Regions from separate parts of the Homo sapiens genome. Here all the other regions are linked to region 3. The links are contacts of gene promoters, found by promoter capture Hi-C in blood cells and fetal thymus (Javierre and others, 2016). All regions are on one chromosome and are shown on one strand. Each heading gives the region's core, a stretch centred on a gene start or on the middle of the fragment in contact. The rest is flanking DNA. Distances are from core to core; before and after follow the strand shown. Region 1 overlaps FZR1 (fizzy and cell division cycle 20 related 1). Region 2 overlaps FZR1 (fizzy and cell division cycle 20 related 1). Region 3 holds the start of TJP3 (tight junction protein 3).

Evidence for each region. Contacts are between HindIII fragments. The CHiCAGO score rates a contact against its expected background, and 5 or more counts as called.
Region 1: a contact is called between a fragment that was not itself captured here and the fragment with the promoter of TJP3 in region 3, in 1 of 17 cell types (endothelial precursors). The highest score is 6.8, in endothelial precursors.
Region 2: a contact is called between a fragment that was not itself captured here and the fragment with the promoter of TJP3 in region 3, in 2 of 17 cell types (megakaryocytes and endothelial precursors). The highest score is 5.8, in megakaryocytes.

Annotation. Positions count from the first base shown.
Region 1 is chr19:3,533,994-3,538,456 of GRCh38, reverse strand. FZR1 (fizzy and cell division cycle 20 related 1) reads right to left here. Exons shown (of 14, transcript NM_016263.4): 13 at 3,944-4,036; 14 at 123-3,662. The coding sequence ends at 3,621. It also overlaps a transcript of MFSD12 not described here. Among named protein-coding and RNA genes, the nearest start is that of TEKTIP1, 2.9 kb to the left of the region's middle. The HindIII fragment of the contact is 1,938 bases long and covers 630-2,567 here.
Region 2 is chr19:3,514,608-3,518,583 of GRCh38, reverse strand. The region is part of intron 1 of FZR1 (fizzy and cell division cycle 20 related 1); the gene reads right to left. It overlaps LOC124904617 (a long non-coding RNA gene), which reads left to right. Exons shown (of 2, transcript XR_007067099.1): 2 at 1-421. Among named protein-coding and RNA genes, the nearest start is that of FZR1, 10 kb to the right of the region's middle. RefSeq lists enhancers at 1-538, 819-1,643, 1,644-2,470. The HindIII fragment of the contact is 8,857 bases long and covers 1-3,976 here.
Region 3 is chr19:3,706,823-3,711,270 of GRCh38, reverse strand. It overlaps TJP3 (tight junction protein 3), which reads right to left and starts at 2,887. Exons shown (of 21, transcript NM_001267560.2): 1 at 2,710-2,887. RefSeq lists enhancers at 736-1,281, 2,117-2,778, 2,779-3,442. The HindIII fragment of the contact is 2,818 bases long and covers 493-3,310 here.

The sequences.
Region 1 (4,463 bases), core at 349-2,848, 170 kb after region 3:
GGGAGGGGGACCTGGGGGTGACTAGGTGACATAATGGGGACAGGGCTGCCTTCTGGGTGATGAGAATGTTCTGGAATCAGATGGGATGGCTGCACGGCGTGGTGAAGGTACTGAACGCCACCTCACTGTAAGACGGTAGATTTTGTATTTTACCACAATAAACAAAACAAAACAAAACCAAACCAAACCCAACAAACATCCAGAAACCTCCTGCCCTGCCCTGCCCCTCCTCTGGCTGGGCCCGGCCTTGGGTGGGGGCGGAGCCTGCACCCTGGTCTCCGCTTCCCCTGCCCTTGTCAGGTCCCCACAGATACGACCCTGCCTTTCCCATCTGGACACGCACCCAGGAGCTCCACTCCCTCGGCGTAGGTGCCCAAGTCCTCCCTGAGGCCCACAAGGCCCTGCACGCCCTGCCCTCCTCTCCTCACTCTGTTCCTCCCGCATACCAGGTGCCGTCCTGCCCCAGGGCCTTTGCATGGCTGTGCCCTTTGCCTCTCACCCAGGCGTCCCTGCCTTCTCCAGCCCTGGCTGAAATGCCAGGCTTGTGGTGAGCCTCTGATCCAAGGCCGCCCTTCCCCAAGGCCCCCTCCCCACCCTTGTGACGCCACCTCCTCACTTCCTCATAAGCTTCTCTGTCTCTGGGCTGTGTCCCCCATGCCAGCTCCACATGGGCCAGGTCTGCTCGGTTTCATCATCTCCAATGCCCAGGATGGGGCCTGCCCCAGCTCCTTCACCCTCTTCTCAGGCACCGCGCAAGAGCGAGCCTCAAAACCACCTGGGGCCTCCTGGCTGCCAGGACCCCCACAGCCTCCCCTGCAGCCCCCGGCCCCCCGGCCTCCTGGCTCCCTCAGCCACTTCCCAGCCATTCCTCCTGTTCTCTCCGCCCAGACCCCGGGGAGGCACCAGCACCCCCTGGGCCAGGCTCCTGCCTCCTGCACCTCTCATCGCAGAACCTATGGCAGCCTGAGTTTTTCAATTCTCTTTCCCTCTCACTGCACCAGCTACATTCCAGGATCAACAGAAAAGTTGCAGCCCGCCCTGCGGGGCCCTTGGTCAGCCTCCCCCTCCATCTGGGCGTCTCCCAACCACTGCCAGGGTCGCCCCAGGAAGCGATGGCCCCACTGGCCTTCGTCTGCCTGTCGGGTGGAGCTGACAGCAGAGGCACCTGCCCCAGCGCTGCTGAGTGGCCCCCGTGCCCCGCAAAGCCTGACGTACACTCCCCTGGGGCCCCTCCACCTCCTCTCAGCTGTCCTGGGCCATGGGGAACCAATTCCCCCATTTCTACACGAGCCCTGGCCCATCATCATGGGACCCTCCCACCACGGCCTTCACCCCCCTTGCTCTGTCCCTCCTGGCCCCATCTGGCCAGCCCTGGGGGTGAACTCAGCCCAGCAGTGCCCACCCTCCCTCCCTGATGGTGTCAACCGAGCACCTCCTCCCTGGAACAGGGCCGTCCAGCTGGAGCGCAGGGACTTGCCTGGAGTCCAGTCCTTGGCCCTGCAGGATTGTGGCCGGCGCCCTGGCAGACGGGCCTGGGAGGCGTCTCTGCGGCCTTCGAGGGCTGAGCTCCCCATCTGTGAAATGCAGGCCTGGGAAGCCCCTCAGAAGCTGCTTCTGCAGCTCCAGGGCCAGATGGGGACTCTAGGGCAGGACCGTGTGACCCCACCCGAGCCGGGGACCTAGAGCCAGCCAGTCCCGGCCACACATGAATCCACGTGTTTAATGACAGCGTCACTGCATTACATGAGAAACAAGGCTGGTCTGTCCTGGGAGCTCCCCCACCCCCTAGCATGGGCAGAACCAGCCCCAACACAAACCTCACGCCGTCCGCCTGGCCCTGCGGCGGTTCCCAGTCCCAGGAGGAGCCTCTGAAGGCCACTGTGGGTTGTGCACTGAGCCAGCCAAGCCCTGACGCCCACAGCGACAAGGCGGCTCTTTGGCAACTGCGGGCAGGGGCGGGCATGGGCGAAGGCAGGGTTGGTTTTCTTATTTAAAAACCTTGAAACAGTAAGACCGTGACCACTGGAAATCCACACTGCCACGTGCACCAGCACCCCCTGCACAGGCGCACAGTGAGGGGTCCGCGCCCCACCCAGACAGAGGTGGGGAGAGTCTCTCCAGTGAATGTGGAAGATCGACCCGCTTGAAATGACGGGGCTTTAAAACCAGGACCTCATCCCCCAGGAGCAGTGGGTGGGTCCTGGCCCCTCCCCGTCTAGCCTCAAACATTTCCAGGACTAGTCAACAAAAACACAAAACAAATCCAAAGAAAAGTCACAAATACATATGTACACATGCACGCCAACCCCACTGGGGACAGACACCAGGATGTTGGGATGTGGGGAGTGGGGAGTGGGGGTTCCCAAGCACAGCAGGGTGGTGGGTGGGACCCTCCAACCCCAGCCCGCCCCACCCTCTCCACGTCCCCACCGATGAAATGGGAAGGGGTGGTGGGGGGGTGAGGGGGCAGTGCTCAGCTCAGGCCCCACTCCCCTGCCTTGCCTCCCTCCCTGCCTGCTGTGCAGCCTGGGAGCATGAGACAGAGAAGCAGAGGAGCCTGGGAAGCTTCTCGAAGGATGGAGGGCGCCCACCTCCTGGACCCCTTGGGTCTCCTTGGCTTCCCCACGGCTGTTGGCGCTGGTGGACAGGACAGGTGAAGACACAGGCAGCCTGGGGGCGGGGGCCACACCGCTGCTGGCCTCCACAGGACCCAGCCACCCAGCAGGCATGGGGGACGCAAGTCTTGCGCAGGGAAGGAGGACGCTGGCCCTGTGAGGGCACGTGTTGGCGAATGCACGAAGACGTGGCATCTGTTGTGCTCCTCTCCAGCCAGGGCAGTGAGCAGGTCCGGGTTCAGTTCTCCTGGGGTGATAAGTCCAGAGCAGACATCCTCCTCCAGTGTGAGGGTGACGCTTGGCCAGGATGCACAGGCCCATCTGAAGCCCACTGACCGCCGGGCGATGGCCATGACACAGATGCTTCCAGAGAGACTGCTGCTTCGAGCAGTGACAGCAGAGGTGGCTGCAAGGATGCCGTGAAGCCCAGGTGGGGACTGTCTCTTGGATCCACAGGCTGGCTCCGCCAGTGGCCCCGAGCCACCTGCCCAGGCCTACATGCCTTGGTCTGGCCTTGGGGCTGGTCTTGGGTTTGACATGGTGGGGTGCAGCCATGAATGGGCAACCGGGGTCTCAGGCCCCCACCAATCAGCCCTGGCGTCTGGTGGTCTGTTCTGTGCAGACGTGGGCAGTTCCAGGAAGAGCATGCGGCTCCGGTGGGCAGGTGATGAACAGACGGAGGCAGTGAGGGTCCCAGGGGGCATCCGTCGCTCTGAGTACAGACGGTCTGAGCCGGGACCGTCCAATGTGGTTCTCGCCCTTTGGGAAGGGAGACAGAGCCCCTGCTGCTGAGGGTCCCCGACCACGTGCCCACCCCAGATACTGGTGGACATGGTTCACAATCAGGCATTTAATGAGACTCCAGGATCCTCCAGGCCCAGCTCCCCGCCCGCCCAGCCGCCTTCCTCGGGGGACAAGCGCTGGGAAGGCAGAGTCCATGCAAGCTGAGGAGCTGGGGTCCTCCGACTCTGGACAGCTGGTGTGGCACGGTCCTGCCCGGCAGGTTTACCGGATCCTGGTGAAGAGGTTGAGCACAGACACAGACTCCTGCAGACACATGGGGATGGCAGATGCGCTGAGCCGCAGGCCCAGGGAGGAAGCTGCCTGGAGGGTCCCCAAGGCTTTGGGGCTTGGTCCTGAGGGGCTGGGAGGTGCCAGTTCAGCCTCGGCCTGCCACACTGCCCCGACACATGACCCAGAATTTGAGGTGAGGGAAGCTCGGAAGTGGGGGAACCCAGAGGAGGGTACGCCCGAGGACAGTGGGGACAGGGACGACCCTGGGACAGGCTGGGGCGGGGGCGAGTGGCGCTGATACCGACCCACTTTACCTTTGTCGAACGGGTTTTGCTAAAGACGTTCCAGAACCTCAGGGTCTCGTCTCCAGCACCAGTGACGATGGCCTCCCCATCAGGGGACATTGCCTGTGGACAGGAGGGAAGCACCCCATGTCTCTGGGCCTCTAGGTGCCTCGGGACAGTGCTGGGGGACTGAAGGAGAGGGGAGCAAGGTGTCGGGTGGCTGGGCCCCCCAGACTCTGGAGCCAGGAGGGAGGGGCAGGCTGGGGCCACCACAAGCAGAAACCAAGGTTGGAGCCTTTTTTTTTTTTTTTTTTTTAATTTTAAGACGGGGTCTGGCTCTGTCACCCAGGCTGGAGTGTGCAGTGGGGCAATCCTGGCTTACTGCAGCCTTGACCTCCTGGGCTCAGGTGATCCTCCCATCTCAGCCTCCTGAGTAGCTGGGACTACAGGTGCACACCACCACACCTCATTTAAAAAAAGTTTTGTAGAGATGGGGTCTTGCTATGTTGCCCAGGCTGGTCTTGAACTCCTGGGCTCAAGCGATCCTCCC
Region 2 (3,976 bases), core at 460-2,959, 190 kb after region 3:
CCATGGGCACAGGAGCGCGGGCACAAGCGGAACGGCTCCAGGACTGTATTCCATGCCAGCACTGCCCCTGCTCCAGATCTGACTTTGCAGGTGGGGCCCAGCCCTTCCCGTGTCCTGGTGGGAGCCTTTGTGGCTTCTGTACTTTCAGCACCCTTGGCTAGGCCTTCTCCAACAATGGAAAAACTTTGTAATGCAAATCTTACTCGTTAAAGAACTTAGCTGCCAGGTACAGCAGGAGGATACCAGGAGTTTGAGATCAGCCAACATGGCGAGACCCCGTTTCTACAAAAAATACAAACAGAGGCACTGTGGGGGGCTGAGGTGGACAGATCACCTGAGCTCAGGAGTTCGACACCAGCCTGGCCAACATGGTGAAACCTCGTCTCTACTAAAAAATAAAAATTAGCTGGGCATGGTGGCATATGCTTGTAATCCTAGCTACTAGGGAGGCTGAGGCAGGTGAATCACTTGAACCTGGAAGGCGGAGGTTGCAGTGAGCAGAGATCGTGCCACTGCACTCCAGCCTGGGTGACACAGTGAGACTCTGTCTCAAAAAAAAAAAAAAAAAAAAAGAAAGAAACAGTTAGCTGGGTGTGGTGGCATACATCTGTAGTCCCAGGACTCAGGAGGCTGAGGTGGAGGCTGCAGTGAGCTGAGATCGCACCACTGCACTCCAGCCTGGGCAACAGTGCAAGACACTGTCTCAGGAAGGAAAAAAAAAAAAAAAGAACTTTGTTTAGTTACAAATCACAGCATTTCAGATGACCCTTTTTTGTTTATCTTGTTTCACACAGAGACCTTGGTGATGCAATTCATTTCCAGAGACCTAAGTGTGGACAAACAGGAGCGCCCTGGAGTTTTTATCTTTTTAAAATTTTTATTCATTTATTTTTCTGAGATAGAGTCTCACTCTTTTTGCCCAGGCTGGAGTGCAGTGGTGCAATCTCGGCACACTGCAACCTCTGCCTCCCGGGTTCAAGCAATTCTCCTGCCTCAGCTTCTCAAGTAGCTGGGATTACAGGCACTCACCACCACACCCAGCTATTTTTTTGTATTTTTAGTAGAGAGGGGGTTTCATCATGTTGGTCAGGCTAGTCTTGAACTCCTGACCTCAGGTGATCCACACGCCTCAGCTTCCCAAAGTGCTGGGATTACAGGTGTGAGCCACAGCGCCCAGCCAGGATTTTTATTTTTGAGACCGGGTCTCACTCTGTCACCTAGGCTGGAGAGCAGTGGTGCAATTATGGCTTACTGCAGCCTTTGCCTCCTAGACTCAAGTGATCCTCCTGCCTCAGCCTCTGGAGGAGCTGCGACCACAGGTGTACTCCACCAGACCCAGCCACTTTTTGTATTTTTTGTAGAGATGGAGGCTTCCCATGTTGCCCAGGCTGGTCTCGAACTTCTGGGCTCAAGCAATCTGCCTGCCTCTGCCTCCCAGAGTGCTGGGGTTACAGGTGTGAGCCACCGCGCCCAGCTGGCATTTTTCCAGAATGAGAGAATGTAAACAAGTGTCACTGGCAGCAGCGGTGGTAACCGCGTGCACTGAGGCACTTGCTGGCAGAGTCTGGTTGTGATTGGCTAAAATATCATCCCCCACTTCCCCAGAACACTGATGCTGCCCTGAAGTCAGCACTGAAAGCAAATACACCGGGCGCCAGCTGCAGCTGCACACGGCCCCTGGCACACATCGCTGCCCAGCAGCACATGGCTGCACCTGACAAGCCCTCCGGGGCAACAGAGACGCCGTGAGCCAATGGCCCAAACGTTGCCAGGTGGGCAGCAGCTGTCAGTCTACTGGCCACACAACTCACTCAACGCTGCCCAAGGCTGGTGGGCAAAACCACAGGGCCCAGGCCTGCCCAGCAGCCTGAGACCCAGCTCCTGTCTGTCCCTGCAGTGAGGGCAGGGGTGCACAAGACGGGTGTGCAGACTGTCTTCCCACCTCCGAGATCTGGAGGGTCCTGTATCCCGGGCCTGGGGCCTCCCGGGGCACCTCACCTGGACACTTGCCCGGTGCTGCTAGCGGTGCTCAGCTCAGCTCCGGGACCCCCAGCGACCCCTCTAAGCCCCTCGCTCAGCTGCGCTGCAGGAAGAACAAAATCCAGGAGCCATAAGAGGCATGGCTGTGGAATTCAACACCGGGAAAATTGGGAGTCCGCAGGGCAGACACACCACCAACACAGTTAAAAAACAGATGACAAACTGAGGGAAGCACCTGCCACCCACAGGAGAGCCCAAAGTAGCAAAGGACACCAACAAACCGCACTGGGAAAGGACCAGTCCTCCCTCGCAGTCAGGAGCTGCCAATCCAACCGAGGACACCACCCTCCCGCCCGTCAGACGGTGGGGGAGGCTGTGGGCTGGGGGACTCGGCCTCACCATCCCAGGCGTGGGGAGAGACAGCCACACGCACTCATGGTTGGCAGAAGCTGCAAACTGCTACGGCTTCAAAGGAAGGCAATTTGGCAACTGCTTCCAAAATTTAAAAAATGCACATCCTCTGTGATGCGGTATTTCTACTTCTAAGAATTTATCCTTAGAAACTCAGCATGCATGTGTGCAGAGATGGAGTCACTGCGGCAGCTAGTCAGAGTGGAAGACGCAAGAGGCCATCAGACAGGGAGCGGAAGAGGCTGTGAGACCCACTGCACAGAAAAATGGCCATGCAGAGCACACTGCTCCCAGAAGGTTCGAAAAGCGGCTGGTCATGGGGTGGGTGGGGAGAGGAAGGAGAGGACGAGGATTGGGGAGGAAAGAAGCCTTATTTCTCCTGGCACCTCGTTTTGTACTTCTTGAATTCCTTTTTTTTTTTTTTTTAGAGACGGAGTCTGGCTCTGTCACCCAGGCTGGACTGCAGTGGTGCGATCTCTGCTCACTGCAAGCTCCGCCTCCTGGTTCACACCATTCTCCTGCCTCAGCCTCCCGAGTAGCTGGGACTACAGGGGCCCGCCACTGTAGTGCCTAATTTTTTGTATTTTTAGTAGAGACGGGGTTTCACAGTATTAGCCAGGATGGTTTCGATCTCCTGACCTTGTGATCCGCCCGCCTCGGCCTCCCAAAGTGCTGGGATTACAAGCGTGAGCCACCGCGCCCGGCCTGTACTTCTAGAATTCTGTATCACGTGAACTGTGAGGTATTCAAAAAAACAAACCACGGTCAGAGATGGGCCAGGCAGGCTCCGGATGAGACCGGGCACCACCGCATTCTCCCTCCTTTGCTGGATGCTCGGAAGGTTTCATCGTAAAAGGTTAGAGTAGAGAGAAATCAGGATCTTAAGCTGCTGTTAAGTAATTCCTGAGCACAGACAACGTGTGTGGCCGTGTGGAAAGGCTCAGACCGGGTCGAGGGAGTTTAGCAGCAACCCGGACCCTCGCTGCACATCAGCAGTGAATCAGTGAGTGACTCGTGCTCCGCCAGGCCCTGCAGAGGTTCTTGTCCCTGGCCCGGGGGTGCCTAGTGGGGATGCTGCTGTGGCTCTGCCTGTGTGGCCGACACCTGCAGCTTGGTTGCCCTGGTCTGGGTGGTGGACCCGGGCCCTGGGCCACCGGGCTTCCTGCTGCCCCATCCCCTTGGCAGGGCACTGCCCTGTGGGTCCTGCAAACCCCCTGGGCCAGCTCATAGGGAAGGTCCACCTTTCACCCCCTGGGCCCCAGAATGAAGAGCCAGGAGGCCTCCTTCTGCCACTGCCCCGGGCAAGCCTTCAGTCTCGAGCTTCTTCCTGTTCCCCTGGGAAATGGGCATGACCCAGTCACCTGACAAAACAGTGACAGGGCCCCCGTACAGAGGGAGACGCCCTGGGATAAATATGTGGAAAAAAATGGAGTCGGCCCCTGCTCACACCAGACACCAGAATAAGCCTCCGATGGGGCAGACAGCACAAACCAGGGGGACTCCAGCTCCTGAGATTCACCTCCTCTCTCCCTCCCACTCAGGGTATGGATTTCAATGTGTGCAGCCTCCTGGGACCTCAGCAGGG
Region 3 (4,448 bases), core at 1,638-4,137:
AGCGGAGATCGTTCCACTGCACTCCAGCCTGGGCAACAGAGCGAGACTCCATCTCAAAAAAAAATAAAATAAGGCCGGGCATGGTGGCTCACGCCTGTAATCCCAGCACTTTGGGAGGCTGAGGTGGGCGGATCACAAGGTCAGGAGAGACCATCTTGGCTACCACGGTGAAACCCCGTCTGTACTAAAAATACAAAAAATTAGCCGGGTGTGGTGGCGGGCGCCTGTAGTCCCAGCTACTCGGGAGGCTGAGGCAGGAGTATGGCGTGAACCCGGGAGGCGGAGCTTGCAGTGAGCCGAGATCGCGCCACCGCACTCCAGCCTGGGCGACAGAGCGAGACTCCGTTTCAAAAAAATATAAAAAGTAAAATAAAGTTACAAAGCGCCTCTCACGCATGTTACCCTCTGTGCAGCCATTGGCTCCATTACTGCGCTCTTGTTTCATGTCTGTCTTTCCCCACCAAAATATGCGCCCCACGAGAGCAGGAAGCTTGGCCTGCCTTGCTCACTGCTGAATCTCCAAGGCCTGGTGACCCCACACTCGCGCATACAGTAAGTGCACAATAAATGCCCGTTCGCTCCCTGGGCGACCCCTCCCCCCAGCCTAGGCTTCCGCTAACCTCAATCCATTCCAAAGGGTGTCAGGTTCCACCCTGAGCAAACACAGCTCCCCTGGCCCCTGGCCAGCCCTAAAGAGGAAGAACAAGTACCCATACTCCCTGCCCTGGACTTTCCCCGGGACTCAGGGCCACGAGGAAGCACCAAGCCAGGGGGCAGGACTTTCTCGAGATGCTGAGCCTGAGGCATCAGCTGGGGGCAGGGCCAGCCTCCAGAGCACCACCCCCGCCACCAGCTCCCTGTCCTCTGCGTCTTGACTCTTGGCCGCCTGACATTTCTACTTGGCTGTGCGGCCCGGGGTAAGCGGCTGTCCTTCTCTGAGCCAGGGTTCATCCTCTACAAACCAGGAAGCTGATGAGACCAGACTCCGATTCGGACCGGGATAGCTCGTCTTGACCCCAGAATGACCGAGAATCTGTTACCCGCTTTATTACATCCGGCACTCAACAGCCCTGTGCCTTGGTGACTCCATATCCCCCCACCCCTTTTTTTTTTTTTTTTTTTGAGACAGAGTCTCACTCTGTTGTCCAGGCTGGAGTGCAGTGGCACAATCTCGGCTCACTGCAACCTCCACCTCCTGGGTTCAAGCAATTCTCCTGCCTCAGCCTCCGGAGTAGCTGGGATTACAAGTGCTTGCCACCATATTCGGCTCATTTTTTGTATTTTTAGTAGAGACAGGGTTCCACCATGTTGGCCAGGCTGGTCTCGAACTCCTGACCTTGTGATCCACTCGCCTCGACCTCCCAAAGTGCTGGGATTACAGGCGTGAGCCACCGCGCCCGGCCCTCAATATCCCCATTTTACAGAGCAGGAAACAGAGGCCCGGAGAGAAGGGAGGTGTGGAAGCCAGATCTAACTGAGTCCACGGGTTTGCTCTCAAAACCCAGGCAAGGTGGGATCCATGTCGCCCACCCCCACGGACTCCCGAATCTCAAGCAAGCCTGCTCCCTGGGAGCTCTGCAGCCACACAGCCACAAGGTGACCCCAAATGCCGGGCCGCTCTGTCCCCCACTATGCGATCATCCATGCCTCCTCGGCCCCGGGGGACCCTCTTGGTTCTGGAGAGAGACTTGAGATGCAATCGGACACTTGGCTCACGAGGAAGCTCCCTTGGTCTTCCCATTTGGGAGCAAATGACCCAGAAAAACACTTTTGCTGCCGACCCCTCCCCTCTCTGGCTCTGAGCGCTCCTTCCTCCTTCCCCTCTGCCCCATCCCACAGAGATTTTGCTCGGAGGAGTAAAGATTAGAAAAAGAAGTCTGGGCGCAGTGGCTTGCGCCTGTAATCCCAGCACTTTGGGAGGCCGAGGGGGTTGGATCACCTGAGGTCAGGAGTTCGAGACCAGCCTGGCCAACATGGTGAAACCCCATCTCTACTAAAAATACAAAAATTAGCTGGGCATAGTGGTGGGCGCTTGTAATCCCAGCTACTCGGGAGGCAGAGGTGGAGGCAGAGGTTGCAGTGAGCCAAGATCGCACCACTGCACTCCAGCCTGGGCAACAAGAGCAAAACTCCGTCTCAAAAAAAAAATTAGCAAAAGAAAGGCCACCCCAATCCCTCCCTGCAAAGCTCCTGGAGGTTCCAGCGGTGAGAACAGGGTGAGGGGTTGGGGGGCGGGAGACGCAGTTGTTTCAAAACTTGGGAGCCTTTTAAGAAGTTCCAGGAGGCTCAGAGATGAGTGAGGTCGCAGCCTTTCCCACCTGTCACCTCCTAGCCTCGGGCTGCAGGAGGTAAACCCAGGCTCCGTCTGGACTGATATCCCCTCCCCTCCTCAGTTAGGGGGATCAGAGACCAACCTGTGCCCCTTTGCCGCCTCCCCGGTCCCTGCGCCACCTAGGTAACAATGACCCTTTTAAGTTTCCAGCTCAGCGTCCTGGGCAGGCCGCCAGGTGCAGTAACTGCCGGTCAGATAATCCCTACGAAACTATGTCAGATGCCCACGCAGGAGTGTCAGTTTCCTGCTTTCCGAGGAGCCGGGGAGACAGCTCGTGGTGGGGGAGGTTGGGGGGGAGTCTAAGGACCCTCAGCTGGGGAAGGCCAGCTCAGACAATGCACACTGGGTGGAAAAGCACAGTGGGGCGGGGGACTTACCTGTCTAGGAGGCTGGGTGGCCTCTGGGCAGGCAGCAGGTGCCAGGGCCCGGGTGCCTGCCTGGCACGGGTGGTGGGGAGGGAACCCGAGGCTTGTAGCTCTGGCCTCCCCACCTGTTTGACCAACTTTTCCTCTCTTGTGGTGGCAACAGGGAGGCAGGTCCCCTGCCAGTGGAACTGACGACCACAGACACAGGGAGACGGACCAGGGTGAGGGGCGGGCCAGCAGGAGGACTGGGTGTGTGGCTCTGTCGCAAGGTGCCCTCACGTGGGAGCAACTGGCCTTAACCCCTGCTTGCCCAGAGGTGAGCTTGCTCCTGCCTGTGCCCTCACCGCCGAGGCCCTGGTATCAAGCGTCCGCACATGGTAGGTGCTTAGGAAACCCTCGTTGGCTACATTCAGACATGAATGGACCGCACTCCCGGAGTCCCCCTCCCTCCTGCTTCTTGCATCTGGAGCTGCCCAGTCTCTGTGCTTGCTGAGCCTCCTGCCAGGCACGCCGGCCCATCAGGCTGTGGCTTGGCGCACTCCCTTCCCCACGCAGATCTGTGCGCAGTCTGCCTCTCTGCTACGAAGTGACTGGGTTCCTACGTACAGAAGCTTCTGCCACTTCCCCGCTGTGTGGCTTTGGGCAAATTACAGGGGCTTCTTGCTGTCCTCATCTAAAAAACAAGAAAGGGTCAGGTGTGGTGGCTCACACCTGTAATTCCAGCACTTTGGGAGGCCGAGGTGGGAGGATCACTTGAGCCTGGGAATTTGAGACCAGCCTGGGTAACACGGTGAAACCCATCTCTAGAAAAATTTTTATATATCTTTTGTTTGTTGTTTGTTTTGAGATGGAGTCTCCCTCTGTCACCCAGGCTGGAGTGCAGTGGCGCGATCTCGGCTCACTGCAACCTCCGCCTCCTGGGTTCAAGTGATTCTTCTGCCTCAGCCTCCCAAGTAGCTGGGATTACAGGCGTGCACCACCACGCCCAGCTAATTTTTTTTTTTTTTTTCAGTAGAGACGGGGTTTTCCTATGTTGGCCAGGCTGGTCTCAAACTCCTGACCTCAAGTGATCTGCCCGCCTCGGCCTCCCAAAGTGTTGGGATTACAGGCGTGAGCCACCGAGCCTGGCCTAGAAAAGTTTTTTTGTTGTTGCTGCTGGCTGTTGTTGGTTTTGTTTTGTTTTTTGTTTTTATTTTATTTTTTTTTTATTTTTTTGAGACAGAGTCTTGCTATGTTGCCCAGGCTGGAGTGCAATGGCTTGATCTCGGCCCACTGCAACCTTTGCCTCCCGGTTTCAAGTGATTCTCCTGCCTCAGCCTCCCGAGTAGCTGGGATTGCATTACAGGCACCAGCCATCATGCCCAGCTAATTTTTGTATTTTTGTAGAGACGGAGTTTCACCATATTGGCCAAGCTGGTCTTGAACTCCTGGCCTCAGGTGATCCGCCTGCCTTGGCCTCTCAAAGTGCTGAGATTACAGGCGTGAGCCACCACGCCCAGCCCAGAAAACTTTTTTAAAAATTAGCCAGATGTGGTGGTACACACCTGTAGTCCCAGAAACTCAGGAGGCTGAGGTGGGAGGATCAATTGACCCTGGGAGGTTGAGGCTGCAGAGAGCTATGACTGTGCCACTGCACTCCAACCTGGGTGACAGAGCAAGATCCTATCTCAATAAAATAAAATTAACCAGGAAGGGTTGGGCATGATGGCTCACACCTATAATCTCAGTACTTTGGAGGCCAAGGTGGCAGG